Regions from separate parts of the Homo sapiens genome. Here regions 1, 3 and 4 are each linked to region 2. Evidence: promoter capture Hi-C in 16 types of primary human blood cells and fetal thymus (Javierre and others, 2016). All regions are on one chromosome and are shown on one strand. The core of a region is centred on a gene start or on the middle of the fragment in contact, and the rest is flanking DNA. Distances in the headings are between cores, read along the strand shown.

Region 1 (3,001 bases), core at 98-2,597, 1.3 Mb before region 2:
GCCTGTAATCCCAGCACTTTGGGAGGCCGAGGCGGGTGGATCACGAGGTCAGGATATCGAGACCATCCTGGCTAACACAGTGAAACCCCATCTCTACTAAAAACACAAAAAATTAGCCGGGCGTGGTGGCGGGCACCTGTAGTCCCAGCTACTCTGGAGGCTGAGGCAGGAGAATGGCATGAACCCGGAAGGCGGAGCTTGTAGTGAGCCGAGATCCCGCCACGGGACCCCAGCCTGGGCGACAGAGCAAGACTCCGTCTCAAAAAAAAAAAAAAAAAATTGCGTAAACGTATGGGTAGAAGTGCGATTTTGTTACATGCATACACTGCATAGTGGTCAACTCAGGGCTTTTAAGGTATCCATCATCTTTTATCTACTTTTTGTTTGGCACTTAGAGAGTAGTACATCGGCCGGGTACGGTGGCTCACGCCGGTAATCCCAACACTTTGGGAGGCCGAGGCGGGAGGATGGCTTGAGCTCAGGAGTTGGAGACCAGGTTGGGCAACATAGGGAGACCTTTTCTCTATTTAAAAACAACAACAACAACAACAAAAAAAAAACCTTTTTTTAAAAATTACCCGGGCGTGGTGGCGCACACCTGCAGCCTGAGCGACAAAGCAAGACCCTGTCTCAAAATAACATAACATAACATAACATAACATAACATAACATAACGTACATCATGCTACGGAGGCCGCTAAAAAGAACATGGCTTCTGTCATACAGGAGCTTATGGTCTCATGGAGAGGCACTGTGAGAGTTCAGAGACAACAGCTCAAAGACAGGGTGGGGGCTTGAGAAAACTTAGCAGAAAGGTGTAGGGGTGGGAATCGGGGTGGGAGTGGAACTGTCTTTTTAGAAGGATGGCCTGGAGAAGAGGAGCAGTGAGAGCATTCCAGGAAGTGAAAGCGGTCAAGAGGTGGAGCTGGATAGCCGATATGCACGAAGGGTGCCCCGGAGAGCCACTTATCAGGACGCAGAGGTCTATAGAGCAAGGAAGAGGCAGAGTTGGAGCGTGGAGGGTCGAGACGCCAGGCAGGAGTCGAGGTTTGACAGGATTAGCGCTGAGCTCTAGCAAGACTGACCTACTGCTGCGAGGAGCTTGGGCTTGGGCAGGAAGCAGTGCAGCTCGCGGTCCGCAACGCAACAGAAGCGGGTGAATTCAAGGGCACCAGGCCTGCAGACTAGGGGATGGGAGGACGCGGCAAGCGGAGACTGGCCCAGGTGGGCGCGCAGGCAGTGGGACTGGCAGCCCCTGCTCGGCCCTAGCCGGCAGCGTACCTGGATGCTGCAGCTCCTTCGCATCCAACCGAGGCCTCCTCAGGCAGGCAGGGTCTCGAGGCCACTGTCTACGCAACTTCCCAGCACAGCCGAACGCAGCACTCGGAACCAGACACGTGAGGGTAGCGTCCCTGGACAACCCTGAACGCCTCAGCTATTGGTGCAGAAAGCAACTTTCTCCCTCCCACCTGCCGGGTTAGCCTCTAGGATTCGGCTTGCCGCGCTATAAAGGGAACTGCGCATCAGACGCGGCACAACTCCGCCCACTAAGGCGGGAGTCCGCGCAGGCCGTCACTCTGGCTGGAGGCCGGCTTTGAACTTCCGGCTTCCGGGCCCGTTATCCTTACTACGCATCCTCAGACGCGCCGTGCTCTCGGAGAGGCCCGCTGAATTCTGGGGGCTGTGGTTTCTCTCCCTCGAGGGAGGGTCTTTGGCGAGCCAAGCTCTGGAACCGGAAGTTTTAGGATGCTAAATCAGAGTCAGCCAATCCTCAGCCTACGGTGCGGTGACGTCGCCAGTAGCTGGGTAGATTTTCGCAGCCGGCCTTCTGGAGGTGGATCGCGCGCCCCCTAGAGCCCGGCTGTGGGCCTAGTCCAGGTAGGGGCCCGAGGGGCACCGCGATGCCTGGACCGCTAAGGATGCGGCAGCTTGGCCCGTGACCAAGGAATGGGCACAAGGGATGAGAGTCTAACGTTTCCGTCCCGTGTGTGATCTCTATTCTTGCAGGAGGCATGATAAAGCCCCTAAGAAGGGCCGGCAAGGCCGGGGCCAGCTTGCGGCGAGGGCGGGAGGGGGCGCTGGCGGGAGGGGAGAGAGAGGGATGGGGACTGAGTGGGCACCGCCGCTGACCCCTGGAGTAGCTGCGATTATGGAGGAGGGATTTCTTTTTTCATTTTTCCTACGGTAAGAGGGAAAACATACGTGCAATGATACGCGCCAGCACACGCACTGCCACATGCACTGAAGCTCCCTCTCCCAACTCTTCTTGTTTCTGGAAAAAACACGCTTTATTGGGTAGACAAATAGGCCTGATGGGAAGGCCTGAGTCACAGTGCACTGGGGAGTGAACAAAAGTAGGCAAAGTGCTTGAAGCTTCCCCTTTGCCCCCACCTTAACCTCCTGGGGAGGCAGCTCTGGACACTCAGTACCCAGACCTGGGCTCAGCAAGGCCTGGGGTGACTGTGCCCCTCACTCCTGCTGCCTGATCTGGGCAGCCCCACCCTTCACTGGTAAGACAGAATTCTCAAGGGATAGGCGCAGAGAGGAGCCCGCCTCCCTGGTTCATTGGAGAGTAACAGGGTTTTAGCATAATGCTGGCCAGAGCCAGTGTGCCAGGTGCTGCCACACAGGAAGCTGACAGCCCTGCTGGACGGGCGGGAGCCTCTCGGGCCCTCCGGACTATTTATAGCTGGAGGCCTAGGCTGCTGACCTGTGACATTCCTCTGCTGCCACCCCATCCTGGAGCAAGGCAAGTGCAGAGCACACTCCTCCTCCTCCCCTCCTGTTCTTTCCTCACCCCAGGGAGTAGGGTGGTTTTGATTTTCTTCCTCCTCCTTGAGTTTCCCAGCTCTCGAGTTGCTGGTGTTGTCAGTACCTCACGAGAAGGCCCTCATTCAGCAAAGAGAGCTGCCCTTGGAATATTGGTGCCCACCAACATAGGAATCTGCTCACCCTTCCCTACCGTTCATCAGCCTTTGGGCCACCCTCTGGCCTGCTGGCT
Region 2 (3,337 bases), core at 534-3,033:
AGTTGAGATGGCAGCCTGAAAATGGGGAAAGGTAATGGACTCTGAAGTTAAATGAACCTGAATTTTGGCTCCATTCTTTTCTTTTCTTTTTTCTTTCTTTCTTTTTTTTTTTTTTCCAGTCAGGGTTTTGCTCTGTCACCCAGGCTGTAGTGCAGTGGCACGAGCATGGCTCACTGCGACCTCGACCTCCTGGGCTCAAGCAGTCCTCCTGTCTTGGCCTCCCAAAGTGCTGAGATACAAGCATGAGCCACCTCACCTGGCCCATTCTTTTAACTATGTGGCCTTTGAAGGCATAATTACTCTTTCTGGGCCACAATCTCCTTACCAGTAAAATGGAGATAGCACTCATCTCATACTGCTATGAGAACTAAGTAAAACAAATAAGGTAGGTTAAGTGTCCAGCCCAGAGCTGAGCACTTAGAAGATTCTCAATAAAAAGTGGCTGCAGTTTTTGAAGATTCTGGCCTACCATGGTTGGTCTGATTCTTAGTTTAATCTGTGAATCTGTGAGTCGAGCGCCCTCTCGTGCTTTTGTGGTGAATTACACCTAACAGATCTCAGAGCTCTCTTCTTTCCCTTGCGTTCTCTCTGGAGTAGAAGCTGGGAGGTGAAAGGCTGCAGGTTCTAAGAGAAGTGTGTGTCTCCGAGGGTTACTTTGGGCCATTGTACGTGATGCTCAGGGCTTTAGGATTACTTGGGTCTATCCTGAGGCTCTGCTTGAGAGCTTGGGCATATTCAGAGAGAAAAGGCAGACCTACAGCCATGTGGAATTGAAGCAACAAACCTGCTGCTGGCAAAATGGGAAGGGAGGTCCGAGATACTTCTGGTTATCTAAACCGTTTCCGCAACTGCAATGTTTTGTTTTGTTTTGAGGGAAAGAGTTATGAACCCATAAGACCAAAGAGAAACACAAAGTGAACTTACGATTTGAGGTTAAAACAACAACAACAACATCAACAACAACAACAACAGCAACAACAAAACTCAGTGGAAGACTGAAGTAGGGGAATCTGGGGGAAGAAAGAAGCAAAAATACCAAGATAGCTCAACAATTGGTCACATTCCAAAGGGCAAGAAATTGAGGAAACCAGGGTTCCATCTGGAATGTTGAGAAAACAGGTGCTAGAGCCCAGGAGATACCATCCTTCCGGGAGGACTTTAGAGCCCATTGTGTGGGCTCATTTGGAGCTGTAACAATAACTGGGGGTTGTTATGGCATTCACCCGGCTGCAGGGGCCAAGGTTGCTAAAACGTCCTCCTAAGCCTGGGATAGTTCCACACACAATGGAGAACTGCATCACCCTCCTTGTGAACCTACTCCGGTAACCTGATCTTTAGTTTGTCCAACTGTAAAATGGGGCTAGCCCCATTCTCACAGAATTATTATAAAAACCGCTTTTCCACGAATGGTATTTATTGTTACTGCGGTTGTTAGCTATAATTACGTACTACAGATATCTCAGGAAGCCCTTAAATTCCTCCACTGTAAGCCACGGGCAAGGACAGTCATAGACCGTAGTTTCTAGGAAGACCAGCCGATTCCAAGAAGGGTGCTCGGCGGGAGAACCTAATGCCGAAAGCCTATTGGCGAAAAACTCTTCCTTCCCGGACGCTAACGTCTGGCAAACCACATTGCCCGGCAGACCCCGCAGCCTGGGGCCGGCGCTCAAGTCATGCATTCTGGGATTGGTAGTTTCCAGGCCTCAGTGTCGGCCTGTGCCGCCCAGCTCCAGGAACTCGCCTTCCCAGCTTGCCTCGCGGCCGGGGGGGTGGGGGGTGTTCATCTCCGCGACCAGGAAACGGGAAAGATGGCGACGGCTCCGCGACGTTGAGGCCGCGTTGGGCGGTTCAGACTCAGGGTGGTGAGTCCCGGGCGGTGGAGGCGGTTCCCACGAGCTTACAGAAAGGGCTAGAGTCAGGGCACGGCGGTGGCCCCTGCCTCCTGGATGAGGCGGGAAAGAACGCCTCAGAGAAGGGGCATGAACCCGGGAAGCTCGGGCGGGCTGGAGTGAAGGGGCGCGGGCCCCAGGGGTAGTGTTGGCTCCTCCGGGCACAGGCCACGTCCCTGCACGATATTTTCCTCCCAGGACTCTGCCTATGGGCACAGCGCCTCTGATACCCCCAGTCTGACCTTATTCTTTCATGCTTAAAGTAGCCTTTGGTGCAGCCAAACTGGAACTCTGGCTTTTCTCTCGCAGTCAGTCCATGTTTTCCCGCCTCTGCGCCGGCCGTATTATTTCTTTTGCCGGGAATGACTTCTTTTCCGCGTCCTTAATTACATATCTTAAAATTCTACTTATACTTAAAAGCTCAAGCGTCACTTCCTCTTCCAAGCCTTCCACATCACCTTTTACAAGTGAAAGGAAACGCCTTTGAACACCTGTATTACTACATCTGAGCCTTGATACTCTTCTTGGTATGTGTCTCATACCCCCTATTGTTCTTTTTTTTCTTTTCTTTTCTTTTTTTTTTTGAGACGGAGTCTCGCTCTGTCGCCTAGGCTGGAGTGCAATGGCACGATCTTGGTTCTCTGCAACCTCCGCCTCCCGGGTTCAAGCGATTCTCCTGTCTCAGCCTCCCGAGTAGCTGTGATTACAGGCGCACGCCGCCACGCCCGGCTAATTTTTTGTATTTTTAGTAGAGACGGGGTTTCACCGTGTTCCCCAGGCTGGTCTCGAACTCCTGAGCTCAGGCAATCCACCTGTCTCGGCCTCTTAAAGTGTTAGGATTACATGCGTGAGCCACCGCGTCCGACCTCATAACCCTGTTGTTCTAAACACTTCCTGTGAACAGAATTTATTTTTGTAACTCACATAGCACCTAGCACTGTGCCTTGCGTACAGTAGATGCTTGTTAAATACGTCATTGAGTGAAAAAAAAGAATGTGCCCCTGCCCTGCAAGAACTGAGGACCTGAAGATCTGGAGGTTTGAGAGGAAGGCTGCTGGGAAGCATGGCCAGAGTCAGCCTGGTTATTTGGCCCTTGTGATAATAGAACCTGTAATAAAAGTTGCCTGTATTTACTGTCTTCTTCTCATTTTTCATTCTCTTCCAAACTCATTCCACTCAGGCTTCCATTCCCGCAATGCAACTGAAACAGCTCTTGTCAAGGTCACCAATAATCTCCATTTTTCCAAATTCAGTGGTTACTTCCCTGTCCCTTATTCCCTCTCCACTTCGGTGGTACTTGACACAGTTGACCCCTCCCTCCTTGAAACATGTTTTTGGCTTCTTCGTTGCCATGCTTTTCTTTGTCTTTTCTCACTGGCTGCTAGTTCTTTTCAGTCTTTTTCTCTGGTTCATCCCGTGGCTAACTCCTGTTAAAGTGTTCCAGAGCT
Region 3 (3,523 bases), core at 424-2,923, 1.0 Mb after region 2:
GCAGCTAGCAGCCCAGTCTGGCAGAAATAATGATAGTAATAATAGTGACTAACACTACTGAGCCCTAAGTACCAGGAGGCACTGGGCAGGGATGTGTATGGAGTGTGGTGCCAGGTTGTAGGAGGACTTGAATGCCAGGAAAGGCTTTTGGGAGGGTAAGTTAACAAGCGCAGAGGGGTTGGATCTGCCTGCCGAAGGAGAACTGGGACAAGGAAAGGGGCTGAAGTAAGAAGTCCCACGCTGAATATGCCGGTAGCAACAGATAGTGAGTCCCGAGCTGTGCCTGAGGGAAGGGAATAGAATCTATGGTTTGAAGTTCACCGCCAGCATGGCCAAGCCCTCCTAGGCCACTGTGGGCTCTTGCTTCCAATCAGACATGACTCCACCTCTGGGGCTGCCTCAATTTTTCCTTCTCTGGATTCTTGGGGTTTCTTAGGATTGCGGGAGATAGAATGGGGTCAGGGGAAGCTGCTCCTTGGTTTACAATGGTGGCGCCTCACGCTGCAGAGAGCCCAGTGTTCCTGCGTGGTGGACCTCTCCCCTTCCTAGGAGCAGCTCCAGATTGCTGGAGGCAGACACGGCTGACCGGCTAGCCCAGGAAGCACAATGGCGAGGTCCTTAGCCCCTGACCCCTGAATCTGACCTTCTCTCCAGCTAAAAGCGGAGGGAGAGGCAGGGAGGGCCACTGCCTAAAGCCGGCCCTGAGCTGAGTTTATTAGCTGAGGGAGGGCTGGAGGCGGCTGCATTCCGACTCACAGACTGGAACATTTCTGTGATCCGCTGTAATGCACTGGGGGACACTGGGCACATTGCTGAAGTTTGACTCATAGGGACCGGGAGGGGGAAAGAGGGGGGTTGTGGAGGGAGAGGAATGGGAGGAAGAGAGGAAGAGGAGAGGAGGGAAGGAAGTCCCTTGAGAAATTTCTTTAAAAAAAGAAAACTTTCAAAATCTGCACCACCCCCACACCCTTTTTCTTTTAATAGGAACAGGCTGGACCCTTCCGTTCCCCTCAGCAGGCATGGTGTGTGTGTGGGGGTGCCAGTGGGGGAGGGCTGGGCAGTGATTCAAATCAGATCCTGGAACTTTCCTGAGGCAAGTCGTGCTTATGTGTGTGTGTGTGTGGTGGGGGGTGTCCGTCTGGGATTCCTTGTATGGGACATGGGACACCACGCGTGTCCCACTGTGCCCGCGTGTGGCTGCGTGCTTGTGGGCTGTACGGGTATGTAGTGTGTGCACGGGGGTCCACCCCGAAGCCCCAGTGTGTGCTGTGTAAATGATTCTGCCCCTTGTAAACATGGATGCGTGCTCGTGTACGTTGTGTATGCGAGGGTGCGTGCGCCCAGGTAGCTGGGTTTCCGGGAATTGTGCACGGCTCGGAGCGCCTCGCGGCGGCTGGGGCTCGGAGCCGCGGCCGGCGTTCCGGGTTCGGCGCTGCCTCCCCGGCAGTGCGCCGCGCCCCGCCGCGATCTGGCCGCGCGCGGTGTCTGCGGCCCGCCTGTGCGCCGCGCGGTGCAGTGTCTGCCGGGGTGGTGTGTCCCAGGGCCGCGAGCGCCTGCCCCCTCCCTCCCCTCCCCCTTGGCCCGCTCTCAGACTCAGATAAAGCATTTCCTTCCATTGTCATCCTACCCGGCCGGCCGGGCTGCCAGGGCCCTCCCCCTCCCGGCCCCCTCCCTTCCTCTCGCCGTCTCACAGTCGCTCTGCAGCCTCCGGCGACTGGGGGGATGTGAGGCCGGCGCCCCAGCCCCCCGCCCCGCCATGAGCCCCCCGCTCTGAGGGCCCCGGCCCCTGGATGCACAGCCCCGGCGCTGGTGAGTACTGGGCGGCCGCCCCCCGCCCCGCCCTGCGCGCGGCACCCAGCGTCGCCCGCCCAGGCTCGGCCTCCGGCCCTGGCCCCGGCTCCGGCTCCGGCTCCGGCTCGGGCTCCCGCCAGCCCCGCGGGCCCAGCCCGGCTTGCGCCCCCCGACCGCGCCTGTCCCGCCCGGCTCCGCGGGGCTCTGGCAGGCTCCGGGTCGGAGCTGGTTCCGGGGGCCGGAGGGCTCGGGCCTCCCGCGGGGCGCCCACATCCGCCCGCCCCGGGGCAGCTACAGGCCCAAGGGAGGGAGTTGGAGGCCCCGGCCGCCGGTGTGCGGGCCCCACGTCCCATCACCCCTGTTCCCGGGGAGGACGAGCCGAGGGACCGGGGAGGGAGGGACGGCCGCGGTGGCCCGGCGAGGGGGCGGTGCTCCGGGGCGGAAGGTTTGGAAGCGCGAGGGCAAAGGGCAGGACCCACTGAGTTGGGGCTGGGCTTTGTGGGGCTGGACATCAGCGCCCCCATCCCGTGGAGCCGGGCAGGGCCCTACTCAGATCCTTCGGCGGGGAAAGAGGTCCCTTGGAGGGGTCTCTGGCTGGGAGGTTTCTCTGAGCATTGCCCCCCATCCTTGCTCACCCATCAGGGTGAAGAGACACCTGTGCCCTGGTGAGCTGTGGAGGTCAATGCCGGCAGCGGCGCGGGAAGCGGGGCGCCGCAGGCTGTGTGAGGGGTGGGGGACAGGATGTGCACCCCCCAGGCCTGGGGTCTGTTGGTGTTGGGGAGTGTGAGAGCAGGCGGCAAATTTGGCGGATGGGCTGGGTTCCCACGACCAGAGTTTCTAGGCCTGTGGGCCAGGAGAGAGCCCTCTGGGGCCCGCAGGCCACCCAGTGCCCCACCCCCATTGCTTCCCGCTGTGGCTGCCCGTTTGGGTCTGACCTCCCCAGCCACGGCTGCTCCTCACTCCTTCTCCCCGCTGGCTGTCTTGCGCACCCAAAGGCCTCCCCCTGCATCTGGACACTGGCTGTCTCGCTGCCAACGCTCCCTGCCCACTCCCCTAGGCAACATCTGCCTGAGGCCCAGCTCTGCCTGCCGCTTTCTAGGGTGAGAATGGGGCATCGGCCCTCAGCGGCCCTGCTGGGAGCTCAAGATCAACTTCTCAGCCTGTTCCCTGGACTTGCATCTGGACCTGTGGGACCTTCCTCAGGACCCCTATTCAGCTATAGGGCTGGCAGGAGACTGTGACTCAGGTCCCTGCCCTCCAATGAGACGCTTTGGCGGCCCTTTCCCCCTCCCAGGACTCCATAGGCTGCTAGGCTGCCGCTACCCATGGGTTATTAAGTCATTTTCTTCTTCTCTGCAGTCATTTCTGAGGGAAACTAAGGCACAGAGTAGTCCCAGTGAGTGGTACCCAGCCCAGTGAACCTAGACTGGAACCAGGTCTTGGACCTATTGGGACTGGTCCTCTGCCTTTAGTCCCCTGATGTCCCTCCTTGCCCAGCAGGGCCAGGCTCAGAGGCAAGCTCAGAGCTGCCTCCTGATGTTGCACCTGGAATGGTCCTGGTGCAGTGTTCTCCAGAGGCCTCTGTGTCCCTTATTCGGCGGGTGTCTCTGTGGCCACCGGGTCTTACAGTGGGTTTTGGGGCAGGGAAGTTTGCATGTCTAAGCTGTTCACTCCACTTTGACACTGAAGTTCAGTTTCCCCATCAGTAAAATGGGGAGAAAATTCCAAGCAC
Region 4 (3,375 bases), core at 876-3,375, 1.1 Mb after region 2:
GCGCCTCTCTCTGAAGGCAGCTCCACAGCTGGCCTGCCTCATAGGCCAAGGGAAGCCTGTGGGGAGGGAGAGAGGGCAGAGTTGGGTCGGAAGAAAACCCCAGGCAACTCCCTAGAGTATAAGAAAGAAGGCCTTTTCCACAGCCCTCTAGGAGGCAGCTGGAGACTCAGGGAGTGGGCAGCACTGCAAGATTTCAGATCTGGAGGGAAGTCAGATGTCTTTTGGGGACATCTCCTCCCACTCCTAATAGATGAGGAAACTGTGGCCCAGGATAGGGTCAAACGGCCAGGTAGGGTTCACCTCCACTTGTACCAGGCCAGACTCAACACAACCAGCTGAGATCCCAGGCTGGCCCTCCCTGCTCATCCTTCTCTTGCCTTCGGTCTTCGCAATGCAATCATAGGGCTCTGACGCCGCCTTCCAGAGGGGAAAGCAACAGGGCCAATAGGAAACAAAAAAGTGGCAGGGAGAAGTGAACCTTGACAAACATGGAGGGTGGCGGGGTGCAGTGGGGAAAGGAACTAGGGCTCTGTAGATAACGCGCAGAGATGGGCCAGTTGTCCTCAGGATCCCACAGGTGGTGAGGCAGCTGGGCAGGCAGAGAACACCCTAGCCAGGGTGCCCATCCCCCCTTCTTGGTGACCCAGTGCTTTGTTGGCATTGTGTAGGGTGGGGCCCTGTATGCCCCTCTTCTAAGGCATTAACCCCACCTCATGCTGCGACTCTACCCAGGGATGGCACTCAGCACTCCCTGTGGCAGTGAGTAAATTAGTTATTTTTAGTTATTCCATTTAGGGTTCTTTTGGCCGAGGATTTTAGTAATGGAATATAATCATCATATGTAAAAGTATTATACGTATTTTCTTCCCAAAGTCCTTTCCCACACATATTATTTCATGTAGCTGTGTAATCCCGGGTAAGCAATTTATTTAACTTCAGGCCTCAGTTTCCTTATCTGTAAAATGGACATAATCGTAAGGCCTACTTCATGAGACTAATGTAAGGATTAAATGAAATAAGGGAAGCAGGTTGCTTAACATAGTGCCTGACACATAGAAAGCATTTTTTAAAATGTTAGAAAGTAGAGATAATATTTTTCATCTTCATACCAATTCTATGGCGCAGAGAGGTTAAACTGCGAGCCCAAATGTGCACAACAAGGAGCACTGGTCAGCCCAGAGCCCCCATCAGCGCACCGATGCTTCCCCTTCCCTCCCAGAAGCACAGAAAGGGCGGCTGGCCTGCAGGATTTGGCAGAGCTTGGCTGAGGAGCCACAGCAGACGGGTAGCAAAAAGGCACCAACATGGGTGGAAAGAGAATGTCCAGTTTCTATGAGATCCCTAACGCCGTCCTCCCTGTGGGTCTCAGCAGAGGGCTCTGCGGGGGAGCCCTCTGGAAGGAGGGAGATGGGCTTCCCCAGCCACCCCTAGCCCTCTTCCTTTCCCACTTCTTCCCTCTCTGCCCTCACCCAGCACCCAGGGAAGGGGCGCCTGGGGGGCAGGGGATCCCTCAGAACAACCGTGTGTGTGTGCGTGTGTGTGTGTGTGTGTGTTTGGGGATAGGAGGCGACCAGCGCCGCGGGCGCGCGGAGGGGACACTGTCGTGGGGCAACTGGGCGGAGGGCGACAGGCAGTGTGCCGTGACAGATAACCCGGGCGGCGCGGCAGGTCTGTGCAGCCGGCAGTGGCGGGCCGTCGGCACCCCCAGGTGGCGCCCGGGCGGGCATCGGGTCTCAGAGGCACCCAGGAATGCCCAGGAGCCCGGGCCCGCGTGGGGCCTGCCGCCGCCAACCGCTGTTTTCGAGTAAACACTCCACCCGCTCCGCGGGGAAGCGCCGCTCGCGGGGAGCGTCCTGGAGCAGCTGACGGCGCCCGCCCCGCAGCCGCGCACCCGCCCCGCGCCGCCCAGCGTCCCGGGGTACCTGCGAGCCCTCCCATGGCCGCGGTCCCCGGCTGTCGGTAGACCACCGTCCAGACGAGGAAGATGGAGAAGCCGGCCACGGAGCTGATGCCGGAGTAGGCGGCGCGGAGGCCGAGCTGCAGCCTGGACGGGGCCATGGGGCTGCGGCGCCGGGCGGGCCGAGGGCGAGCGCGGCCGAGAGTCACAGGTGCAGGGCCCGAAGCCGCCAGCCGGAGCCGCGGGAGCCGCCAGAGCAGCCGGCGCCCCGCGCTCCGCCCCCGGCCCGCCCCCAGCGCCGCCCGCACAGCGCCCTCCCCGGCCGGAGGCCGCCCGCGCCCGGAACCGCAGACGCCACCGCCGCTTTGCGAAGCTGCCGTGTCGTTTGGGGGAATGCTGCTAAAAAGGCGGATTCCTGGGCCCATCCCCAGACCCGCCGTGTCCGGATTGTTGGACCTTGGAAGGGACCGGAAATATGCCTTTATACGAGCGAACCGCGAGGATTAAAAATCTTTACCTCTGAGTACGATGCGTATTTTCGTTTAAAATTAAAATTAAAATTTCTTGTTAAAAATTAATAGGTAAAACTTAAGAAATATTAGAGTACGCTGTGAATAGAATTCCTTCCGCCCGTCCTTCTATCAACCAGGTTCCCTCCCACCATATCGCAGAGGATTTCTCCACACACTAAAGTCTGGGAACCCCTGCGACCATCACCTTCTGACTGCAAACATTCTATACATTCTATCCTCACGCACAGCTCCCCACAAATCCCTACTTTTTTTTTTTTAAACAGAGTCTCACTCTGTTGCCCGGGCAGGAGTACAGTGGCGCCATCATAGCTCCGCATCCTCCAACACCTGGATTCAAGCAATGCTCTCACCTCAGCCTTCCAAGCAGCCAGGACTACAGGTGTGTGCCACCACGCCTGGCTAGTATTTTTTGTTATTTATTTTTTGTAGAGATAGGGTCTCGCTATATTGCCCAGGCTGGTCCCCAACTCCTGGCCTCAAGCTGTCTTCCCACCTCGGCCTCCCAAAGCGCTGGAATTACAGGCTTGAGCCACTGCAACGGACCTCACCTTTCCTTTTATCAGCACAAGCCTTATCCTCCCAAACCCCTCACCCTGACCCTCGGGATCATACCATTGTAAGGAAGAGACAGATCTGTAGCAGGAGGGCACTGAGCTCCCACGTGAGCCCAGCTTCCGGCCGGGAGCTGGAGGGAAAATCCCAGCACAATAACAAGGGCTCTGCCACAGCACTAAGGATCCACATGGGGAGGCCCATCATATACCTGCACAAAACATAACCAATACCCCTTGCATTAGTTTTTTTTGTGTGTGTGCTGCCGTAACAAATTACCACAAATTTACTGATTTAAAATAACACAAACTTATTATTATTTTACAGTTCTGTAGGTCAGGAATCCAAATAATGGTCTCACTGGGCTAAAATCAAGGGGACATCAGGGTTGCC

The links. Contacts are between HindIII fragments. The CHiCAGO score rates a contact against its expected background, and 5 or more counts as called.
Region 1: the fragment with the promoter of COX14 here is called in contact with the fragment with the promoter of DDX23 in region 2 in 5 of 17 cell types (monocytes, neutrophils, non-activated CD4 T cells and 2 more); the score reaches 8.8 in monocytes.
Region 3: the fragment with the promoter of HDAC7 here is called in contact with the fragment with the promoter of DDX23 in region 2 in 2 of 17 cell types (neutrophils and M0 macrophages); the score reaches 8.6 in neutrophils.
Region 4: a contact is called between the fragment with the promoter of SLC48A1 here and the fragment with the promoter of DDX23 in region 2, in 4 of 17 cell types (erythroblasts, neutrophils, total B cells and 1 more). The highest score is 8.9, in erythroblasts.

Annotation. Positions count from the first base shown.
Region 1 is chr12:50,110,582-50,113,582 of GRCh38, reverse strand. It overlaps COX14 (cytochrome c oxidase assembly factor COX14), which reads right to left and starts at 1,347. Exons shown (of 2, transcript NM_032901.4): 1 at 1,282-1,347. It overlaps GPD1 (glycerol-3-phosphate dehydrogenase 1), which reads right to left. Exons shown (of 8, transcript NM_005276.4): 8 at 2,270-3,001. RefSeq lists enhancers at 1,018-1,067, 1,078-1,317, 1,538-1,797, 1,858-1,907. The HindIII fragment of the contact is 7,994 bases long and covers 1-2,375 here.
Region 2 is chr12:48,850,609-48,853,945 of GRCh38, reverse strand. It overlaps DDX23 (DEAD-box helicase 23), which reads left to right and starts at 1,783. Exons shown (of 17, transcript NM_004818.3): 1 at 1,783-1,862. It overlaps LOC105369755 (a long non-coding RNA gene), which reads right to left and starts at 2,225. Exons shown (of 2, transcript XR_944925.3): 1 at 2,132-2,225; 2 at 1,397-1,896. RefSeq lists enhancers at 649-858, 1,738-1,927. The HindIII fragment of the contact is 5,632 bases long and covers 1-3,337 here.
Region 3 is chr12:47,818,053-47,821,575 of GRCh38, reverse strand. It overlaps HDAC7 (histone deacetylase 7), which reads left to right and starts at 1,673. Exons shown (of 26, transcript NM_015401.5): 1 at 1,673-1,809. The coding sequence starts at 1,791. RefSeq lists enhancers at 1-832, 2,171-2,744, 3,462-3,523 and silencers at 1,383-1,722, 1,863-1,942, 1,953-2,262. The HindIII fragment of the contact is 23,145 bases long and covers 1-3,523 here.
Region 4 is chr12:47,771,988-47,775,362 of GRCh38, reverse strand. It overlaps SLC48A1 (solute carrier family 48 member 1), which reads right to left and starts at 2,125. Exons shown (of 3, transcript NM_017842.3): 1 at 1,923-2,125. The coding sequence starts at 2,058. RefSeq lists enhancers at 893-1,397, 1,398-1,904 and a silencer at 1,650-2,259. The HindIII fragment of the contact is 7,379 bases long and covers 1-3,375 here.